Regions from separate parts of the Homo sapiens genome. Here regions 2 and 3 are each linked to region 1. Evidence: promoter capture Hi-C in 16 types of primary human blood cells and fetal thymus (Javierre and others, 2016). All regions are on one chromosome and are shown on one strand. Each heading gives the region's core, a stretch centred on a gene start or on the middle of the fragment in contact. The rest is flanking DNA. Distances are from core to core; before and after follow the strand shown.

Region 1 (3,368 bases), core at 64-2,563:
CCTTACTTCTGGCAAAAAATCATTGTGGGGTCTTGCAAATGGAAGATGACAATCTGATACAACTGCTTCCTCTTGCCCCAAAATGAAAAAAAAAATGACCTCAATAACAAGACTGCTAGGCCTCAGATTCCCAGACTAACCTGTGGAATAAGTATGGTGAAACTGTCTAGGGAAGGAACGTGGCTGTCTCCTCCATCTTGAAATTAATCAGCATAAGGGAAAAAGGGACCGAGTATTCAGGAAGCAGAAGCCCAACCGGTTAATACTAGTTACTAAGCTATGGCATGCGTGGCAGGTACCGTCTGCAGAAGCAGAGACCCCCCTAGGCTTTTTTTTTTTTTTTTAATGGGGGAGGGATTGAGTTGTTGGTGGATTAAACACAAATTAACTTGAAAATTTGGCCCAATTCCATCCCTTATCCAGGAGAACACAACAAACACCTAACGGCTTTTCCCTCTCTTTTGCGGGGGGATCCTTCCAGTGATACCTGGCAAAGGATATGCCAGGGTTATTCGAGCAAGGGAGTAAACCACATTTGCCTCAGATCCTCAGGGAAGATGTCATCGCGGCCCCAGGGGGCGCCTAATTGGTAATACCCTGCAGAAGGGCTCAAAATGAGGTTTTGGAAATCTAAAGGCCCAAGAGTTGCCAGCATCTCACTTGGGGCAGCCTGATTTTTTACTTCCCTTTTCCCAAACCCAAGCCCGCCATGGAAAACGCGGGGAGGTCAGGGAAGCCTCCAGAGAACAGAGAAGAAAAAGCCTGAGACGTTCTAAGATTCTGACGCCTGAGGCCAAAACTCAAAAACTGCCTCCCCCGATTTCCTAAGGCTCCGGAGGGCCTGGGCTGCAGCTCGCGCGGCCACCGAGAGGAAGTACTACCCACCTCCTTCCCCTTCAAAGAGCCTGTCGACTATACCACTCAACTAAAATGGCAGCGGCGACTACGCCACGGAGCCCCCCGCAGCAACGGGCCTGGGGTCCGGAGGCGGCGCTGAGCCTCTGCCACGACGCGTCACTCGGGCCATTTTGAGAGAACGCGGCAGCCGCGGCTCCGCTGTCTTCCTCTCGCTCTACATCATTTCTCACAGGATTCCCAAGTCTTCACTTACTAGGTTTTAGGGTCAGGATCCGACTCGGTTGGTTCGGCCGCCGCCGCCGAGGCTGCTCCGCACCTCCCTGGCCGCCGCTCTCAAGCCCGCCTCCAATGAGTAGCTGGTTGAGACCCGCCTCTAGCCCAGCGCCTGCTCGGAGACGTTGCTCAGGCAGCCATTATCTTCCCCATTGTTACCAAGCAGCGACAGGAAACGACTGCCCACAACAGGAAGTGATGATGCCGCGTCCCGGCACCGCAGCCCCACTCCCAGCCTATTAGCCAATCCCAGTCGATTCCTCGAAAAGGCTCCGCGGGAGGAGGAGGGGGACGGCAGACGACGCGGCAAGGCGGGCGGCGGTTTGGAAAAGGAAAGCTGTTATGACGCCCACCATGTGACAGGCCCCACCCTCCTCCGCCATTTTGAATTGTGGCGAGAAATTTGCGTTCTGAGAATTGTGGGAACCTTCGCTTTCCCATTTTGAAAACTGAAGGACGTCACGGTCTGACTGCTTGAAGACATTTTCAGAGAGAGAGAAATGTGATATTAGTCTACCCTGACATCACATCAGTTCACACAATCCGTGCAGACCAGTTCAAAAAGTAGCCTGCGTTTTATTCAACATGTATTTACACAGTGCCAACTGCATGTCAAGCACCATTGTAGCTGCTTAGGAAATTAAAATAGACCAAAATTAAGAAAGAAAACAGGCCACGTTCGGTGGCTCACGCCTGTAATCCCAGCACTTTGGGAAGCCGAAGCGGGCGGATCACCTGAGGTCAGGAGTTCGAGACCAGCCTGGCCAACATGGTGAAACCCAGTCTCTACTAAAAATACGAAAATTAGCCGGGCGTGGTGGCGGGCGCCTGTAATCTCTGCTAATCGGGAGGCTGAGGCAGGAGAATAGCTGAACCCAGGAGGCGAAGATTGCAGTGAGCCGGGATCTCGCCACTGCACTCTAGCCTGGGTGACAGAGCAAGGCTGTGTCTCAAAAAAAAAAAAAAAAAAAAAAAGAAAACAGATCAAAATCCCAGTTCTCTTGAGTCTTTATAGGGGCCAGGGACAATAATTTAGAAAAAATCAAACATAAATACATATCATGTTAGTGATAAATGCCAAGGAGAAAAATCAAGGAAGGGGGACAGAAGAGTTCCTTGTAGGGACAAACGGATTCGTGATGTTTAAAAGACTGATAACTTTGAGGCATTAACTCTAAAGTATTCGAAAAAGGGCGGTGATTGTAAAAGGGTGGGAAAATCTGATAACGTTGGGATTTGTAAAAGGGCAGTTAAAGAAGGCCTTTCTTAGGTAGTAATGCCTGAAAGAATTGAGGGAACTCGCCACACAGCATGCCACTCCCATTGTCACAGTTAAAGGAAAACCTTACCCAAGTTTTTAGATTCTTTTCCTTTTCCCAATTTTTCTGTTTTCCAATAGCATGCCAGCTATGCTGGCTTTGTTACGGTTTTTCCAACAAAGCTAACTTCTTCCTACTTCAACTACTTTACCTTTGCTGGAATATTTTACTTTCATATCTTTGCTTTCATCATCCAAGCCTCGCAATTATTAACTTCCTAGAGAAGCCTTCCCTGACCACCCTACCTAAAATAACTTCTTCCTGAAGGCGGAAAAAGGTCTGAGGAAAAAAAAAAAAAGAAAAAAGTAATAACGACTTCTCCCATCTCCTTACCTGCTTACTTTTCTTGTAAAACACTTAATCTGAAAGTAAGTTATTTATTTGTTTGTTTACTTCACCCTTTCTGAGCAGTAAACCTCTCTGTTTTGTTCACTGTTGTGTCCCCAGCGACCACATAGTAAGCCCTCAAAATACTTTGGGAGAATTACCCCCTCACCATGATGGATGTTATATCAGCCTGGAATATAAGTATTTCACTCCAAGCAGTTAAAACAATATCCCTCATACTTACCTGCCCAACTCCCTAGAAGACTCATTGATATTGTCATTTTTGGCAGAGGGATACATGATTTAGGCGCTGTGTCTCTACTCAGGTTTTTGTCTTATTTTACATAATCATGTACTAGAACGATTACCTAGAACGTGTAAAAGGAATTCTTCAGTAGCCTGCAATTGCCATTAAGCCTGATATTCTGATTATGGCAATAACATTAGCCACTCCTTAACGTATTCTTGAGGCTTATGTGGCTTAATCTAAAATATAAAATCATAAAAGAAGTGGAAGAAAATACAGGTTACTATTTCTGTCCTTTCTTCCTTCCTTCCTTCCTTCCTTCCTTCCTTCCTTCCTTCCTTCCT
Region 2 (3,278 bases), core at 315-2,814, about 30 Mb after region 1:
AGCTCTGAGTAGGCGAGTGGCTGCAGCGTAGGGTTCTTGGAGTTAGGTGATCAAGGGTGAGGAAGGGACTATTTTCCCTGCTTGGACGATTTCTCCTACACCTCATTGCACGGTGCTGGGCACACACTGCAGGAGCTCAATAAATACTTGTTGAATTGGGACAGAATGAAAGAGTGCGCTGGGAACCAGGGCATCTGGATGTTTTCTCACGCACCCGCAGTGTGACCTTGGCCAAGTCCCTTTTCTGGGACTGCGGTTCCTGCTTAGTAGTCGAGTACGAGTGAGAAAGCGGAGGAGGAGGTTGGCCAGAGGCGCCTAGCCTTTCTAGCGGCCTGAATCCCTGATTCGATGCGTAGAGGGCGGGGCGGGCCGCTTGGGGCCGCGGCGGGCGGAGGTTCAGTTCCTCCTCCGGTCCAGCAGGGGGCACGGGGAGTGGCTTCCCGCCGCCCTTCCCCTCCTTGCGGGCGCCGGGCAGACTGCTGCAGTCGCAAGCGGCGAGCGCAGTGGGCGGGGCGGGCCTGGCCGGGCCGGGCGGCGGCGCTGCGCTGACGGGCTGAGTCTGGCGGCGGCGGAAGCTGCAGAGGCCACCGGGGCGCTAACTGGGTGGCCGGTGGGCCGCTGTGGCCTCGAGCAGCCTCTTCGCGCGGCCCCGCACCCCGGCAAGCAGCAGCGGGCCGCGACGCCCAGCCTGCCAGTGAGCTGCGACGGGCACACCCCGGAGCGTCGGCGACTGCGGACAGGTTAGAGTGGGGGCAGGGGCGGGCGCGGGAGCAGCCCAGGGCCAGAGAGGGAGCCCGAGCCAGGCCATCTCCAACCATGTCCGACGAGGCCTCGGCCATCACTTCCTACGAGAAGTTTCTAACCCCCGAGGAGCCCTTCCCACTCCTGGGACCTCCTCGCGGGGTGGGCACCTGCCCGAGCGAGGAGCCGGGCTGCCTGGACATCAGCGACTTCGGCTGCCAGCTGTCCTCCTGCCATCGCACCGACCCGCTCCACCGCTTCCACACCAACAGGTACGAACTGCACCTGAGGGCAGGGGTGGATTTTCCACTTCTGGTCGCCCCCCGCTCCTGATCCTTCGTCCCGGGCTGCGCTTCCAGTCGCCCCCTCCCCCACCTGCTTTCGACCAGCGCTCATTCCCGGCCTCCTTCCCTGCCCCCCCTCCCTATTTTCACCCCTGCCCTCCTATTTTCCTTTCGACCGGCGTTTTACTCTCTTTTCCTCATTCATATTCTGGCTATAGCGACTCCTCCCTTCCCTACCTTCTCCCTCCCTTGCTTCCCTTCCCTCCCCCCATCTGTACCCTACGAATCCCAAACCCCCACCCTTGATTTTTAGATACGCCCCTGTTTGCATCCATCTGCAAAAGTTTAACCCCTTCCATTTCCGGTACGCTGTAGAGGAATTTGGATGGCTCAAGATCAATCCATAGATCTTTTGAAAAGTGGCGTTGAAAGGTGGAACATTTAAAGCTAGAAGCTTCATTTTCCCTATTTTTAATCTGTCTCACAGTCCTGTTCCCCCCGCCGCCACCACCCCTACCCCATTTTTTTTTTTAGTTGAGCGCTAGGAAACTAGTCGATTCTCTCTTTTTTTCCTCCTCCTTTATTAACTGTTTGCCTTAGCGCTTTAGGCTCTGCCAAAATTGGTAAGCTTAAATCTGGAGGATTCCTTCATATGACATATCCCTTGGTTTCCTTCCCCTTTGAAGAGACAGAGTAAGGCTTAGGATGGACTGACTTACACAAATTTATTCAGAGGGTGTATCTCCTCCTAACTGATTTCAGTAGAAGGTAGTGTTCTGGAGACTTCTCTCATGCAAGCATTTACGTGTTAGATCAAATCTTGGGGGGTGGGTTGAAGACGTTCTAGATACAGCCTCAAGTTTTAACATAGGTGGATATTTGAGATACATATACAAAGGGCTGGGGGGGTGTGTGGTTAAGGCTCTAGGAGAGGGGTTCAGCTATGGAAAATACTGGAGATAAATTAAGAAATCTAGTTCTGACTTCTGATCCAAGTTTATGATGTGAGTTTGATCAAATTCTTCCATATTTTAATGTCTTTAGCATATTTCTCCCCTCCCTTCCCTTAAATCAGTCTGTAGATTGAATGAGCTTCTACCAGATACAAGGAATGTGTAAAAGATGTTTCTTACATAAATGAAAGTTATAGTCTATGGAAACAAGGTGTTATAGTTAAATAATCAGAATATCAGTATAACACATCTCAAAAGGAAGTGGCAGTAAATTTATTATGACTACTCTAAATCGTCATTGCAAAAAATGAAGAAACAGGCCCAGAAAGAAAAGATTGAGTTCAAGGTCATAAAACCTAGTCAAGCAAATCCAAGACTATTCCTTTGAAGCCAATGATTAAACTTGGAGCAGAACTAATTGATCCAGTGTTACAAATAGAACTTATGGTTTCCTAGACCAACTCACAGAAGCCTATTTAACCCCTGATGTCACTGTAATGTGAATGTAACATATTCATGAAATCAAGTGTGCTTAGGGTTATTTATGTTGAAAAATAATGTAAAAGAATACCTTTGTACATATTTGGCATTTAAGTTTTGCAGCCTTGGAGCAAGTCACATACCCAGGAAAGTTAAATAATTTCAGAATGATCCTGCTGTGATGATGAGGGCAAGGGAGTGAGGGCAGAGGCTGTGGGTAAGTACTGCCAAAACTGGGTAGAGGTGATGGGGAGTGAAGTTATGAGAATAATATGTTTCTTACAACTTGTTCTGTTCCTTCCTCCTCCCCGTTTTTTCCTGTGTTTTCTTTCCCTTAAAGACTGTGGTGAGGTCAGGACTGTTTTTCAATGGGGCAGTGAGGAGGGGAGAAGGAGGTTCTTTGCAAGCCCCAGTTTTTCCAAGTCAAGCATTTTTCCTAGTTACTGCTTGCTTTTTTTTTTTTTTTTTTTAACTTCCCTCTCCTACCCTACTTTTCGCAAGGCTTGGCATGGTGGCAGGGGTTCTAATGCTCTGTATCCTTTTCAGCAGAGAGTAGGGGAAGCAAAATTAGCGATATTCACAGCACATGATGTTTCTGTCCTAGGCTACCTTGCCTTTTAAATGTATTATCCTTCTGCAATGTTCTGCTTTCTTACCCCTCCTCAAGATGGTGCTTGAGAGGACCATAGGCTTCCAGCCATTTCTTTTCAGGGAGAAGCACACAGCTAAATCATATATCGGGCAAAGTTTAGGGAGTTCTTTTATTTTGGAGTTGTATGTGTCACTTTTTTCCTTCACATCACATCATTTGTCAATTCAG
Region 3 (3,554 bases), core at 863-3,362, about 44 Mb before region 1:
AGCCAAGATTGCACCACTGCACTCCAGCCTGGGCGAAAGAGCAAGACTCCAACTCAAAAAAAAAAAAAAAAAAAAAAAAAAAGTTCACAGTAAATATTTAAGATAGGCTGAGCTCAACTCTTCCATCTAACACCTTTCCCCTTATCTTTACCTCATCTCTAACAGGGTGCTGAGATGTGACGCCTGAAAGGCCAATATTTTGGCTTTTCAGTTTTGTTTTGGTGAAAGGAATGAGGATGTGGAATACACATTGTTGTAGGAACCATAGGATCAACAAATTTAAGAATCCCCCATGTACATCTAGCCCAACTTATTCTGAAATGTCTGAATTCTGATCCCATTGTGCTGCCAAACAAATAATTTGCTGTCCTGTTGGAATCTGAGAGTCAAAAGTATGTGAAAGTTCAAACGTGGTCAGGGATTTTTTTTTTTTAATGGATCGATGTGGTAGGTTTGGTGGCTTTGTTTTTACTGCCTTCTAGAACCAAGAAAATCCTTTTCTATATCATTCACTCAACTAATGCCTTTCACTGTTTTTAGAGGCAAGTTGGCCTGGTTCCTTGCTTATATGCCTGTCTCCCTCTTTTCCTCTTCCAGGAAATTCAGAGATACTGACTCATCTTCACTCTTATATTAAAGCAAGCCAGTTTATCGATAGTTATTAAATCTAGTATGTCCATAAGCAGGCTTCATCTGGAACATTAGAATGTGAGGTCTAGACGGTGTTTAGGAAAATTTGCTTTCAGATCATGTGTGGTAAAACTATACAAACAGAGATGGACAAGTGACGTGGTGTAGAGCAAGGTAAGAAAGGAAAAAAAAAAAAAAGGAAAAGAAATGATGTTCCAGAACACAGAGATTTGGGAAAGGGATGGAAAGAAATGACAGTGGGTATAGCGGAGTGCTTTTAAAATTGATAGAGAGCATGGTGGGTTACAAAAGCAATTTAGTGATTTTCAATCAGCATTAAAAAAAAATGATATGCCATAGAATAAAAATACAGAATGCATACTGTGGAAGGACAAATATTGTTTTGGAAAGTTTTTCTATACATACATAAATGTATATTAGATGTATATAACATGTATTTACATGTGTAACAATTGTAACTACAAATGTGCTCCCCGCCCACACACACTGGAGCCTGGGTTTGTTTTGTAAACTGTTTCACAGTGTGGGTCTTGGTTCCAAGTTTGAAAGCCCTTAGAACACAGGATCCAGAAGGATCCGGGCAAGGTAAATTCAAGGTCAAGGGAGAGTCCCTTTTCTGTCCCCTGCCATCCAAAGCAGTTAATGGAGGGAGAGGAAATGGCGTGTGGGGGAGGGGACCGCAGAGTGAGGCCAAACGAGGAGCAAGGGCGCGTCAGGACGGAGTGGTGCCGGGCGCCTTCTGCCTGAATGGTCGATAGAGGAACTTGGGGAGGTTGATTTTGGGTGCTTTCCTTAAATGCTAAACCGAAAGAACTTCCGCGTTTCTTGTCCCTGAAAAGCTTGCAACGGTGAAGGATTCGCGTTGCTCCTTGAGGTGACCCTATATGGGGTCAATCCCAGCCAAAGGAATGATTACGATTACCAGGGGCCAGATGCAGGGAGGTGGGCGGGGCGTGGGAAACGCGGGAAGGCCGGGCCGGGTAGGTCCACACAGCGACTCACGTCGCTGCACGACTCTGCACAGCCCACTGGAGGGAACAAGCAGTTCTACACACTTTGAGACCCCTATGGAGGCGAGCCCCAGGACACTAGTGGAAGTGCGCTCTTTTCGCCGGCCAGGAGCGCTGCCTGCCAAAGGGCAGTACTCGTCTCCGCCCCATGCCATGCAGCTGGATGGCTCTGCTGTCCGCTCGCCGGGCCCCCACGTGACCTACTGCGCGGGCCGCCGCCTCCACCGCGCCCAGGCCCCGCCCCCGTGACGTCTCATCGCCCTCTGCCTGTCCGAGCGTTCGGCTCTTTTGCGTTTGCTGATTGGCCAGCCCAGGTGACAGCGCCCACCCCCACCCCCCCTGACACGCCCCTGGAGCCTTGGGGGTACGCGGTGGGGGGCGGGGCCTGGGCCGGAGGGGCGGGGTGAGAAGGCTGCGCGCGGGTAAAGGGGCCGCCTCGAGCGCGGTCCGAGCGTTCAGCGGACGCGCGCGGCCTCGATCTCTGGACTCGTCACCTGCCCCTCCCCCTCCCGCCGCCGTCACCCAGGAAACCGGCCGCAATCGCCGGCCGACCTGAAGCTGGTTTCATGGCAGCCTCAAAGAAGGCAGTTTTGGGGCCATTGGTGGGGGCGGTGGACCAGGGCACCAGTTCGACGCGCTTTTTGGTGAGCCCGGGGTGACATGTGAAGAGGCGCTGAGCCGGGGCGGGAGTCGGGGGACGGAGGGGGTGGCTGTTGTGTCCCCATCCCGCATCTCTCCGGCCCGGTGCCCCGGCCGCTGGGCAAGGAGGGAGGCCGGAACGGGACCTGCCACACTGGGGATGCCCCAGCCAGGCCTGGGGGACCTCGGCCTCTCATGACCCCCATGGCCGAGTTGAACAGTCGCAGTTTTGGTGGCGGAGCTGGGTCACCTACTAATGGGGTGACTCTTCCCCCAAAGGGAGCAGGGACTCTCCGAGCATCCGCGCAGAGCGGCCCGCTTGCAGTAGGGGACAGGTGGCCACATTGACGGCTACCGCGGTCTTCCCCAGGAACATTTGGCCTGCGAGACACAGGACGTCCTTGGATGGGGGGAAAGCTGTGTCACGGCTGTGGTAGCTAACACAGCGTCCTTTCCAGCAGTAGAACGAATAAAGTATTGGAGTGATGATGCGTTGTCATCCTCTCCCATAAAAATTGCAGAGGGTTGAATACTGGGGAGGGTGGCAGAACAAATTAGGAAACAGTCACACTACACTGGTTTTGCCATAATCTTTATTTAATTCCGAAGACTCGCAAATTTCAGTTCTGAGACTTTGCCCATTACAAACAAATGATTGTCCTTACTGTGCTTCACAGCATAATGCGACACGGAAATTCTGTTTCTCTTTTTATTTACCATGTGTGACAGCACAGTTTTACCACAAAAGATTGCTATTTAAGTGACTGCTGATTAATTTTTGTGCAATTAGTAAACTTGCTCTTAAAGTGACCTAGCACAGAGTTCAGTAAGATAATTTAAAAGTAATTGAGGCCGGGCGCGGTGGCTTACACGTGTAATCCCAACAGTTTGGGAGGCTGAGGCGGGTGGATTACCTAAGGTCAGGAGTTCGAGACCAGCCTGGCCAACCTGGCATAACAAAAATTAGCTGGGCGTGGTGGCGGGCGCCTGTAATCCTACTTACCCGGGAGGCTGAGGCAGGAGAATCACTTGGACCCGGGAGGCGGAGGTTGCAGTGAGCAGAGATCACACCACTGCACTCCAGCCTGGGCAATCCAGCCTAGCCAACAGAGCGAGACTCTGTCTCAAAAAAATAAAAATAAATAAAAAATAAATAAAAGTAATTGAAATGAATGCCTGCTGATAAAAGCCCATGCTTTCAATGGATATTTGACTAACTTGGCAAGTTGATGTAAATATTTAATGATTATTTAG

The links. The method cuts DNA at HindIII sites, captures the fragments that hold promoters and counts their contacts. A CHiCAGO score of 5 or more calls a contact.
Region 2: a fragment that was not itself captured here is called in contact with the fragment with the promoter of RLIM in region 1 in 1 of 17 cell types (total CD4 T cells); the score reaches 5.6 in total CD4 T cells.
Region 3: the fragment with the promoter of GK here is called in contact with the fragment with the promoter of RLIM in region 1 in 2 of 17 cell types (naive B cells and naive CD4 T cells); the score reaches 7.9 in naive B cells.

The regions. Positions count from the first base shown.
Region 1 is chrX:74,613,311-74,616,678 of GRCh38, forward strand. It overlaps RLIM (ring finger protein, LIM domain interacting), which reads right to left and starts at 1,314. Exons shown (of 4, transcript NM_016120.4): 1 at 1,112-1,314. RefSeq lists an enhancer at 919-1,238. The HindIII fragment of the contact is 9,843 bases long and covers 1-3,368 here.
Region 2 is chrX:104,165,970-104,169,247 of GRCh38, forward strand. It overlaps FAM199X (family with sequence similarity 199, X-linked), which reads left to right and starts at 484. Exons shown (of 6, transcript NM_207318.4): 1 at 484-1,013. The coding sequence starts at 817. RefSeq lists a silencer at 272-761 and an enhancer at 326-826. The HindIII fragment of the contact is 174 bases long and covers 1,478-1,651 here.
Region 3 is chrX:30,651,311-30,654,864 of GRCh38, forward strand. GK (glycerol kinase) reads left to right here and starts at 2,113. Exons shown (of 21, transcript NM_001205019.2): 1 at 2,113-2,305. The coding sequence starts at 2,228. RefSeq lists a silencer at 1,783-2,202. The HindIII fragment of the contact is 2,269 bases long and covers 1,489-3,554 here.